Regions from separate parts of the Homo sapiens genome. Here regions 1 and 2 are each linked to region 3. The links are contacts of gene promoters, found by promoter capture Hi-C in human tissues and cell types (Jung and others, 2019). All regions are on one chromosome and are shown on one strand. The core of a region is centred on a gene start or on the middle of the fragment in contact, and the rest is flanking DNA. Distances in the headings are between cores, read along the strand shown.

Region 1 (3,475 bases), core at 758-3,257, 140 kb before region 3:
AGGCCCTTACTTCTTGTTTTTTGAGTATCTCTACAGATCCTTTTTTATTTGATATCTTGGGAATTACATAAAATTTCTTAAATTTAAAATAATATATTTTAAACTGGTAAGAACTTAACTTTAGTTGCATGTTGAAATTCTTCCTCATTATATCTGCCCTCAACTTTATTATTGATGTCACTAATCATATTTTTATTTTGCATATTAACAGTTTATGATTAAGGGGTTTTTTTGTTTGCTTTTATCTTTCACATTTTGGAGAATAAAATATTTTCTGTGCTATCATGATAATGATATAGAACTTTATATTTTTGTATGTGCATATCTTTCCTAGAAAATTATGTTTTCATATGATTATGTTTTGTTTTCTTGCATTATGTTATTTTCAGTGAAAGATACTTTCTTTAGCCTTTTTTTTTTTTTGCAAGGCAGATGTAGTGCTAATATACTTTTTCAGCATTTGGTTATCTTGCAAGGTCTTTACTTTTTCTTCATTTTTAGGACAGTTTTGCTGGTTATATTAGTCCCACTTAGGAGCTATTCTTTTTTTCTTTTTTCTTTTTTTTTTTTTTGAGATGGAGTCTTGTTTTGTCGCCCAGGCTAGAGTGCAGTGGCGCGATCTTGGCTCACTGCAACCTCTGCCTCCTGGGTTCAAGCAATTCTTTTGCCTCAGCCTCCCGAGTAGCTGGGACTACAGGCATGTGCACCACACCTGGCTAATTTTTTTGTATTTTTAGTAGAGACAGGGTTTCACCATGTTGGCAAGGATGGTCTCGAACTCCTGACCTTGTGATCTGCCCACCTTGGCCTCCCAAAGTGTTGGGATTACAGGTCTGAGCCACTGTGCCTGGCCGAAGCTATTTTTCTTTCACCACTTTATATTACAATTCCATGACATCTGGAATTTTTTTTTTTTGACAGATTCACTGGTTATCTTATAAGACCACACTTATTTATAAATGACACATCACTTTTACCTTGTAACTCCTAAGATTCTCTTCTTGTCTTTGACTTTTGAAACTTTGCTTGTATGTGTCTTGTTATAAATCTCTATGTGTGTATCCTAGTTGAAGCTTGTGGAGCATCTTCAGTTTTTACATCCTTTTTTTACTTTTGAAAATGTCTCAGTCATTATTGTTGTATTTTTCACCTTCATGACTTGTTTTTTATATTTTTAATGTTTTCATTGATATTCTTATTTTTCTGATTTTATAAATTGTATATGTTTCTATTTCACTCATTGAGCATTATTCAGGTTAAACTTTTAAATTTTGAATATCTTCATTATTTATAGTTGTTTTCTGAAAATTTTCAAATTTTTTAATTGGGCCATGTTGCCCTAGTATTTTGCCTACATTGTAATATTGTTATTTGAACATGAACTAAAAGCTATTTGTCACAATCTTTACAATGTTGCCTTGTCCTCACATAGTCTGAAACCAGTTGTCTTTGATAGAGATTATGGGAGCCTCTCATACATGTTGTAAGGGTGTGTCTTGTCTAGAATTTTGTGTTTATTCTTCAGTTAAAAGAGTTTGTTCATGTTTCTTCTTATGGTTTCTAATCACTTGCTCTACCTGTTCCCTGTTTTTAGCACTGCTGTCTGCTCATGAAACATTTACCTTTGGTCTCAGCAGACTCACCACCATTTCTTTCAGCACCCTGTATTATTGGAGACAGAAACCAGCTTTTGTAATAATTTCCAAAAACCAGAAGTAGGAATGCGTGTGTCACTATTTTTCCTCTAAGAAGCCAGGTGTTGGCAGTTTACTCCTAAAGCACAATGCTATATTTGTGGGAAGGAAGAGCTGCAGTGGGTAAATGTAACATACTTTACTTCGTGTTTTATGTGGCTCTTGGAATTGTGCTTACCTGAGGCATTGCACATAATTAACTCATTTATAGATTTCACACAAAGGCATTTTGGTCAGTATATTTTTGTTATATATGTCTGTAAAGAAATTATGGCCTGTGGTATTTACTGAGCATCTTACTGATATACTTTGTATAATTTTATATATTAGATTTGTAATTGTATTAGATTTGTAAAGTATATTTATTTACTTATTTGTTTATTTATTTATTGAGATGGGGTCTCACACTGTCACCTTTTCTGGAGTGCAGTGGTGTGATCTTGGCTGATGGAAGCCTCTACCTCCCGGGTTCAAGGGATTCTCCTGCCTCAGCCTCCCAAGTAGCTGGGATTATAGGCATGCACCATCATTCCCAGCACATTTTTTTTGTATTTTTAGTACAGACAGTGTTTCACCATGTTGGCCAGGCTGGTCTCGAACTCCTTACCTCATTATTTGCCCACCTTGGCCTCGGAAACTGCTGGAATTACTGGCTTGAGCTATAGTGCCTGGCCTGTAAAGTATATTTATATGAATCTAGTAAGTGGGATAATTTGTTATTTTTATTTCTTTCAGCTGTGTGTTCTCATTTCACCCAAAACCTTTGGACAGTGCAGGGCATAGAAGATTCATTCCACAAACTTATACCAAAAGGACATGAGAAACGTGGACATGAGAATTTAAGAAAAACTTGTAAAAGTATAAATGAGTGTAAGGTGCAGAAAGGTGGTTATAATAGAATTAACCAATGCTTATTAACTACCCAGAAAAAAACAATTCAATCTAATATATGTGTCAAAGTTTTTCATAAATTTTCAAATTCAAACAAAGATAAGATAAGATATACTGGAGATAAAACCTTTAAATGTAAAGAATGTGGCAAATCATTTCACGTGCTCTCACGCCTAACTCAACACAAAAGAATTCATACTGGAGAGAACCCCTACACATGTGAAGAATGTGGCAAAGCCTTTAATTGGTCCTCAATTCTTACTAAACATAAGAGAATTCATGCCAGAGAGAAATTCTACAAGTGTGAAGAATGTGGTAAAGGCTTTACTCGGTCCTCACACCTTACTAAACATAAGAGAATTCATACTGGAGAGAAACCCTACATATGTGAAAAATGTGGTAAAGCTTTTAACCAATCCTCAACCCTTAATTTACATAAGAGAATTCATTCTGCACAAAAATACTACAAATGTGAAGAATGTGGTAAAGCCTTTAAGTGGTCCTCATCCCTTAATGAACATAAGAGAATTCATGCTGGAGAGAAACCCTTCTCATGCGAAGAATGTGGCAATGTCTTTACCACATCCTCAGACTTTGCTAAACATAAGAGAATTCATACAGGAGAGAAACCCTACAAATGTGAAGAATGTGGAAAATCCTTTAATAGGTCCACAACTCTTACGACACATAAGAGAATCCATACTGGAGAGAAACCCTACACATGTGAAGAATGTGGAAAAGCCTTTAATTGGTCCTCAACCCTTAATGTACACAAGAGAATTCACTCTGGAAAAAATCCCTACAAATGTGAAGATTGTGGCAAAGCCTTTAAAGTGTTTGCAAACCTGCATAATCATAAGAAAATTCATACTGGAGAGAAACCCTACATA
Region 2 (3,430 bases), core at 112-2,611, 140 kb after region 3:
GTTTATTCAGGTGTGAGGAATGCATAAAGGCTTTCCCACATTCTTTACATTTGTAGGGTTTATCTCCAGTATGAATTTTCTTATATTCATTCAGGTTTGTGGACCATCCAAAGGCTCTGTCACGATCTTCACCTGTGTAAGCTTTCTCTCTGTTGTGAATTCTCTTATGTGCAGTAAGGTTTGTTGACCTATTAAAGGCTTTGCCACATTCTTCACATTTGTAAGGTTTCTCTCCAGTATGAATTTTCTTGTGTTGATTCAGGTCTGTGTACCATCCAAAGTCTTTGCCACGTTCTTCACAAGTGTAGGGTTTCTCTCCAGCATGAATTCCTTTATGTTGAGTTAGGTCTGAGAACTTCTGAAATGACTTGCCACATTCGTTACATTTAAAGTGTTTCTCTCCAGTATGTCTTGTCTTATCTTTGTTTGAATTTGCAAATTTACTAAAAACTTTGACACGTGCATTACATTGAAATATTTTGCTCTGAGTATTTGACAAGCATTTATTAATTCCATTATAAACTCCCTTCTGCACTTTACACACGTTCATACTTTTACAGCCTTTCCTTAATTGTAAATTATCATGCCCACATTTCTCATATCTTCTCAGTATAAGTTTGTGGAATGAATCTTCTATCCCCTGCACTGGCAAAAAGTCTTGGGTGAAATGAGAACACATAGCTGAAAGAAACAAAAATAACAAATTATCCCAGTTACTAGATTCATATGCATATACTTTACAAATCATAAGATTATACAAAGTACGCTAGTAAGATCACATAACAAAATACCACAAGTCATAACTTCTTCACATATACATGTAACAAACATATGGTGATCAAAATGCCTTTGTGTGAAATCTATAAATGAGTTAATTGTATGCAATCCCTCAGGTAAGCACAATGCCAAGAGCCACATAGAACAGGAAGGAATGTTTGTTCAATTTACCCACCAACAGCTCTTCCTCCCCAATATAGCACTATGCCATTAGAAGAAAGCTCTCAACTCCTTTTTCCTTAAAAGAGAAGAAAAATACTGACACACATATCCTTATTTCTGGCTTTTGGGGTCTTTACAAAAACTGATTTCTGCCTCCAATAAAACAGTGCTGAAAGAAATGGTGATACTTTGGAAGAACAACTTGGGTATTCGAAGACAAAATATAAATATTTCAAAAGCAGACTGAAGTGCTGAATACAGGCAACAGGTACAGCAAGTGATGAGAGACTTTTTTTTTTTTTTTTTTTTTTTGAGATGGAGTCTCACTCTGTCGCCCAGGCTGGAGTGCAGTGGCGGGATCTTGGCTCACTGCAAGCTCCACCTCCTGGGTTCATGCCATTCTCCTGCCTCAGCCTCCCCAATAGCTGGGACTACAGGCACCTACCACCACGCCCAGCTAATTTTTGTATTTTTAGTAGAGATGGGGTTTCACTATGTTAGCCAGGATGGTCTCAATCTCCTGACCTCGTGATCCACCTGCCTCAGCCTCCTAAAGTTGCTGGGATTACAGGAGTGAGCCACCATGCCTGGCCAATTAGAGCCTCTTAACAGGAAACATGAAGAAACCCTTTTAACTAAAAAATAAACACAAAATTCCAGACAAGAGACATCCTTCCAACATGTATGACAGGTTCCCATAATCTCTACCAAAGACAACTGGCTTCAGACTACATCATGACAAAGCAACATAATAAAGATTGTGACAAATAGCTTTTTGTTAATGTTCAAATAACAAGCAAATATTACAATGTATACAAAATATTAGAACACATTATAATGATTTTAAAATTTTCAGAAAACCATAAAAAAAGATGTACTAATTTTTTAAATGTAATCTGAATAATGCTGAATCAGTTAACTGAAAACACATATAACTAAATGTAATCAGAAAAATCAGAACATCAATGAAAACATTAAAAACATAAAAAAAGGAGGTGAAAAATATAAAATAATGACTCAGAAATTTTCAGAAGTTAAAAAAAGGATGTAATAAATGAAGCAGCTCAACAAACTTCAACTAGGATACACACACAGATTTATCGCAAGGCACATATATATACATGAGCAAAGTTTGAAAAATCAAACACAAGAAGGGCATTTTAGGAACTACAAAAAGTGATGTGTCATTTATAAGTGTGGTCTTATAAGATTACCAGTGAATCTGTCAACAAAACTATTTCACACCAGAAGGAACTGCAATATAATTAAGATGCTGGAGAAAAAAAAATTCTACATGGGAATAATATAACCAGCAAAACTGTCCTAAAAATGAAGAAAAAGTAAAGACCTTTCAAGATAAGCACATGCTGAAAAAGTATATTAGCACAACACCTGTCTTACCAAAAAAATGCTGAAGAAAGTGTCTTCCAGTGAAAATAACATAATGCAAGAAAACCAAACATAATCATACGAAAATATGTAACTTTCTGAAAAAGATATGCACGTACACAAAGTTCTGTACCACTATCCTAATAGTGCGGAAAACATTTTAATTATTCTCTAAAATTTTAAAGTTAAAAGCATAAAAATGATCATAAACTGTTGATCATTATCTGGTAATAATATACCACATAAAAATATGATTACTGACATCAATAACAAACGAGGACAGATGTAATGAGGAAGTTTTCTTTTTTTTTTTTTTTTTGAGACAGAGTCTCACTCTGTCACCCAGACTGGAGTGCAGTGGCACTATCTTGGCTCACTGCAACCTCTGCCTGCCCAGTTCAAGCAATTCTTCTGCCTCAGCCTCCTGAGTAGCTAGAACTACAGGTACACACCACCATGCTCTTCTACTTTTTGTATTTTTAATAGAGACAGGGTTTCATCATACTGGCCAGGCTGGTCTCGAACTCCTGACCTCGTTATCTGCCTGCCTCAGCCTCCAAAAGTGCTGGGATTGCAGGCGTGAGCCACCACACCCAACCCCGAATTTTCTTTTTTTTTTCTTTTTTTTCTTTTTAGACAGAGTCTCACTCTGTTGCCAGGCTGGAGTGCAGCAGCACAATCTTGGCTCACTGCAACCTCCCCTCCTGGGTTCAAGCAATTCTCCTGCCTCAGCCTCCCAAGTAGCTGGGACTACAGGCGCACCACCACGCCCAGCAAATTTTTGCATTTCTGGTGAAGATGGGGTTTCAACATGTTGACCAGGATGGTCTCGATCTCTTTACGTAATCCGCCTGCCTCAGCCTCCCAAATTGCTGGGATTACACACGTGAGTCACCGCGCCTGGCTGAGGAAGAATTTTTCAAATGCAACTCGTTTTTACCAGTTTAAAATATATTATTTTGCAGGGCACAGTGGCTCACACCTGTAATCCCAGCACTTTGGGAGGCCGAGGCGGGTGGATCACAAGGTCAGGAGATTGAGACCATCCTAGCTAACATGGATAAACCCCATCTCTACTGAAAATACAAAAAGATCTAGCCAG
Region 3 (3,599 bases), core at 579-3,078:
TAAATGCTTTAAGAAAAGGGAGAAGAGCAAAAATTATTCCCTCATTCTAAAGAGAGACCATTAAGCCGCGTCTAATTTGGGTTTGCTCCTGCAACAGCCAGGTTTAAAGGCATGGTCTTGAAGTCACTAACGTCTGAATTCTCGCAGGCAAGTGAGGGATGGACTTGGGCACACTGTGTGCACAGGAAATAAGATTTGTGAGGAAGAAAAAAGCAGAAGAGAGAAAGGAGCTATCAAGAGTCATGGTGGGGACAGGGCAGGACTGACTAAATAAAAGACTAGTTTGTGCTACAAGTGCAGGTCTAGGCAGGGTTACCATCTGACTGATTCATGTGTCCATAAAGGCAGAGGAGATTAGGATCAGGTGGTCCAGAAGCCTGGGTGGGGGAAGGAAACAGGTTCCTGCTATAGATCCAGTGTCTGGGGTTGAAATGAGCCAGGAGTCTTCCTGGCACTGTGTGTGTTATTGGCAGAATACCCTAGGAGCAAAGCTGTCACGGGCACAATTCCTGAGGGTAGAACCCTGTCCTGGGAGGAGTGTGGCAATGCGAATGGCCAGTGAGCGTCCTCGGGAGTGGGTTAGCATTAAGTGGGGGCTGGCAGCAGGGTGCAGGGAAGGGATGTTTCTCAGAACTCCTTTCCTCTAAGTTCCCAGTCCCTTCTCTCCCCGGAAGGAGACCTGGAGGAAAAGGACAGTGCCCAGCGGGACAGCACATGTGCAGAACCCGGCCGCGCCTCCCGCAGACACCAGGCATCTTTCTCCAGCCCAGGCTCAGCCATGTCTTTCTTCTGACAGAAAACGTGCGGAGTTTGCTCAACATCAGTCAATGCTCCAACCCCAACGCGGTGTCCAGCAACTCACTAACGACACCACCCAGAGTCAGCGAAGACCCCACAAGCTCAGCGCTCTTCCCGCAGCTGCCCCCCCCCTGCAGACGGCAGTCCCTGCCTCTGGACACCCGTCTTCATTTCTGAACGCCTGCCTACAAACCAGGGGCGCCCACACCCTCCTCAAGTTCAATAATGTGGCAGAACTACTCACAGAACTCAGCGAAGCGCTGTGCGCGCCCACACCAGCGTATTCTAAAAGATGCCACTCAGGAACAGCCACGCGGAGGAGGCGCACAGGGCAAGGGGACTGGTGGGCAAGTTGGAGCGGGCGGGTGATTTGCTTCGCTTCCTCACACACCTCACAAAAGCTTTTCCTTCAAGACCCGCTGGCAGCCCCCAAACCACAAGCCATGCCCGGGGCTGTCCCATTAATTAGTCCCCATTTGCTCACATGAACTCTATGTTTTGATAGGGCCTCGATCTTATTCCGAACAGGGTAAAGTAGGGACTCGACGACCGGACCACAGCTCCTCCCAGGCGGGCACCTCGCACGCCACGCAGGCGTTTTCCCGATGAGCTCCTCCTCACCCCACAGCCCAGGGAAGGTGCGGGGCTGCGGGCGCAGAGCTGCACAAGTAGGGCTGCAGGCTGGGCCAAAGCCGCCTTGCGGGGACCGACATGAACCCGGGTCCCTCACCGGAAGGGACCAAGGACTGAGGGCTGAGCGGCGGCAGCGGAGACTCCGTTCGCAGACTCCGTCCCGCCGCCGCCATTTCCCGCCGGTTCGGATGAGGCCTCCCCAGCCTTGGGACGCCCTGCCCCCACACTCACCATTTCCCCACTTCAGGGGTGTAGCGGAGTCTCAGCTACGAATCATCCAATACCCGCAGGTCACAGAGCGACGGAGGCTGAGGCTGTGACCGAATCACCGACGCCTCCCTGAGGGGTGAAAGCACGGCCGTGGAGACCCTAACCGAGCTCACGCTGGCGCAAAAGGCAAAAGCCGCGCCAGATCCCGGATGCCGCCCCCTCCTCTCCGGCTGCGCGCCTGATTGGGCAGTTCTCAATCCAGCGCTCTGATTGGATAAGATACCAAGCTCCCCACGCTCAGAATTTGAGTGACAGAACTTGCCACCACACAGTGCACTTAATGAGGCAAGAGAGACAGACTCGTGCCTCCAGGTATTTTCAGTCAGGGCTTTCTGTGCTAGGCTTGGCTCTGTTGGGGGTTCATTTTTAACCTTCTGGTGTGTAAGGTTACGCCCATTTATAAATTGTGTACGTACGCGCGCGCACACACACAGACACACACTTGTTCACAAATGGAAACAATATAATGACAATTATTTTAATATTTTAGATTTCATAACCTCTCTGTCCTCTGGTCTTTTGAGTAGGATTTTAAGGGGGAAGCAATCCTTTAAAAAATAAAATGTTAGCTATTTGTGAATTTTCAATTTTTTATTAGCCACATCAAAAATAATAAAAAGAAACAAGTGAAATTGTTTATATTTTAACCTATTGTATCCAAAATATTGTTTCAATATGTGATCAATATATAATTAGAAATAAAGTATATTTCTGATTTAATTCGTCTAAACTCACTGTGTATTTTATGTTTGCAGCACATTTTACCTCAAACCAGCCACATTCCAGGTACTCAGTAGCTACATATGTCTGGTGGCTGCCACATCGAGTACAGCCATGAGGGCTCTGACCTCAAGAAAGTGAGGGCCTGAACACGTCTTTTCTACTGGAAGTAAGGGACCAGCCTCTCTACCAACTTTTCTCCTCAGGATGAAGGATGGGTAGGACAGTGCCCCTAGAGAGAGCAGGGGCTGCAAGCTGAGAGTGTCCACGTGAAGATCACTGTCTCCCCCTTGCTGTTTGGTACCAGTGTGGTGGTCTCCTCAGTTCAACCACGTCTGGGCTCTCTTCCCATGACCAGGAAGAATAAGACATACAGACACCAGAGAGTGAGTAAAGCAGAATAGGATTTATTAAGCATAGGGAAAGCTCTCAGCAGTAAGAGGGGACATGAAAGCAGGGTGCCAGAAATGGGGCTGAGTTTATATGGCAAGAACAAGGAAGTCTTCTGTGGGCTCTGCCCAAATGGGAGGGGTAAAGTTCCCCTATAACAGTGTTGCATCTGAGCATGCCTGGGATTGACCACAGTGACTCCGTCTTGGTTATTACCCATGAGTGCCCAAGCGAAACCCACAGCAGGTGGAAAGGGTGAAGCTAAAACCAAAATACTTATGTCATGTTAGGTAACATTATAAGGAGCTGGGTCAAGTTAATGACATTTAGGTTGATTTATTACACCTGGGCCTAAGTGGGGACAGTCCCTTCTGATCAACATCCTGGCATAAGAGGAAGTTCTTAACCACATTTCTTCCCACTAGCTACAAGGGTGGTGCATGTGCGGTCCCATGGGTGTTTTTCCTCTCCAGAGACCCTCCCTCCCTATCTTCCTAACTAGCTTCTGACTGCCTCCTCTCTCAGGGGTTCCTCTTCCTTTTAAATATCAGACAGTAAACAAGGAATGATGGGTCCACAGGAAGAGAGAGCACCATGTATTCAGATCTCTTCACAGCCTTGCCCTCCAGAGTTTAGATGTGGAGGGAATAGATTAAAGGCAAATTTCTTGTTTTGCTATTTATCTTTGGACCTGTCAGGCTGTAACTGTGTGTTTTTCTCCTGTGGTGTGGGGCACTGTGTGAGTTTAAGCACCAATCACATGCATCCACTTCTACCTGCACTTCTGT

Evidence for each region. The method cuts DNA at HindIII sites, captures the fragments that hold promoters and counts their contacts. A contact is called where the count stands out against the background at its distance.
Region 1: a contact is called between a fragment that was not itself captured here and the fragment with the promoter of ZNF732 in region 3, in 7 of the 25 tissues and cell types used here (dorsolateral prefrontal cortex, heart left ventricle, hippocampus and 4 more).
Region 2: a fragment that was not itself captured here is called in contact with the fragment with the promoter of ZNF732 in region 3 in 8 of the 25 tissues and cell types used here (dorsolateral prefrontal cortex, heart left ventricle, heart right ventricle and 5 more).

What each region holds. Positions count from the first base shown.
Region 1 is chr4:158,483-161,957 of GRCh38, forward strand. It overlaps ZNF718 (zinc finger protein 718), which reads left to right. Exons shown (of 4, transcript NM_001039127.6): 4 at 2,430-3,475. Among named protein-coding and RNA genes, the nearest start is that of ZNF718, 36 kb to the left of the region's middle. The HindIII fragment of the contact is 3,300 bases long and covers 358-3,475 here.
Region 2 is chr4:443,752-447,181 of GRCh38, forward strand. It overlaps ZNF721 (zinc finger protein 721), which reads right to left. Exons shown (of 3, transcript NM_133474.4): 3 at 1-681. It also overlaps the pseudogene ABCA11P. Among named protein-coding and RNA genes, the nearest start is that of ZNF721, 54 kb to the right of the region's middle. The HindIII fragment of the contact is 5,137 bases long and covers 1-3,430 here.
Region 3 is chr4:303,646-307,244 of GRCh38, forward strand. It overlaps ZNF732 (zinc finger protein 732), which reads right to left and starts at 1,829. Exons shown (of 4, transcript NM_001137608.3): 1 at 1,663-1,829. The coding sequence starts at 1,665. The HindIII fragment of the contact is 17,523 bases long and covers 1-3,599 here.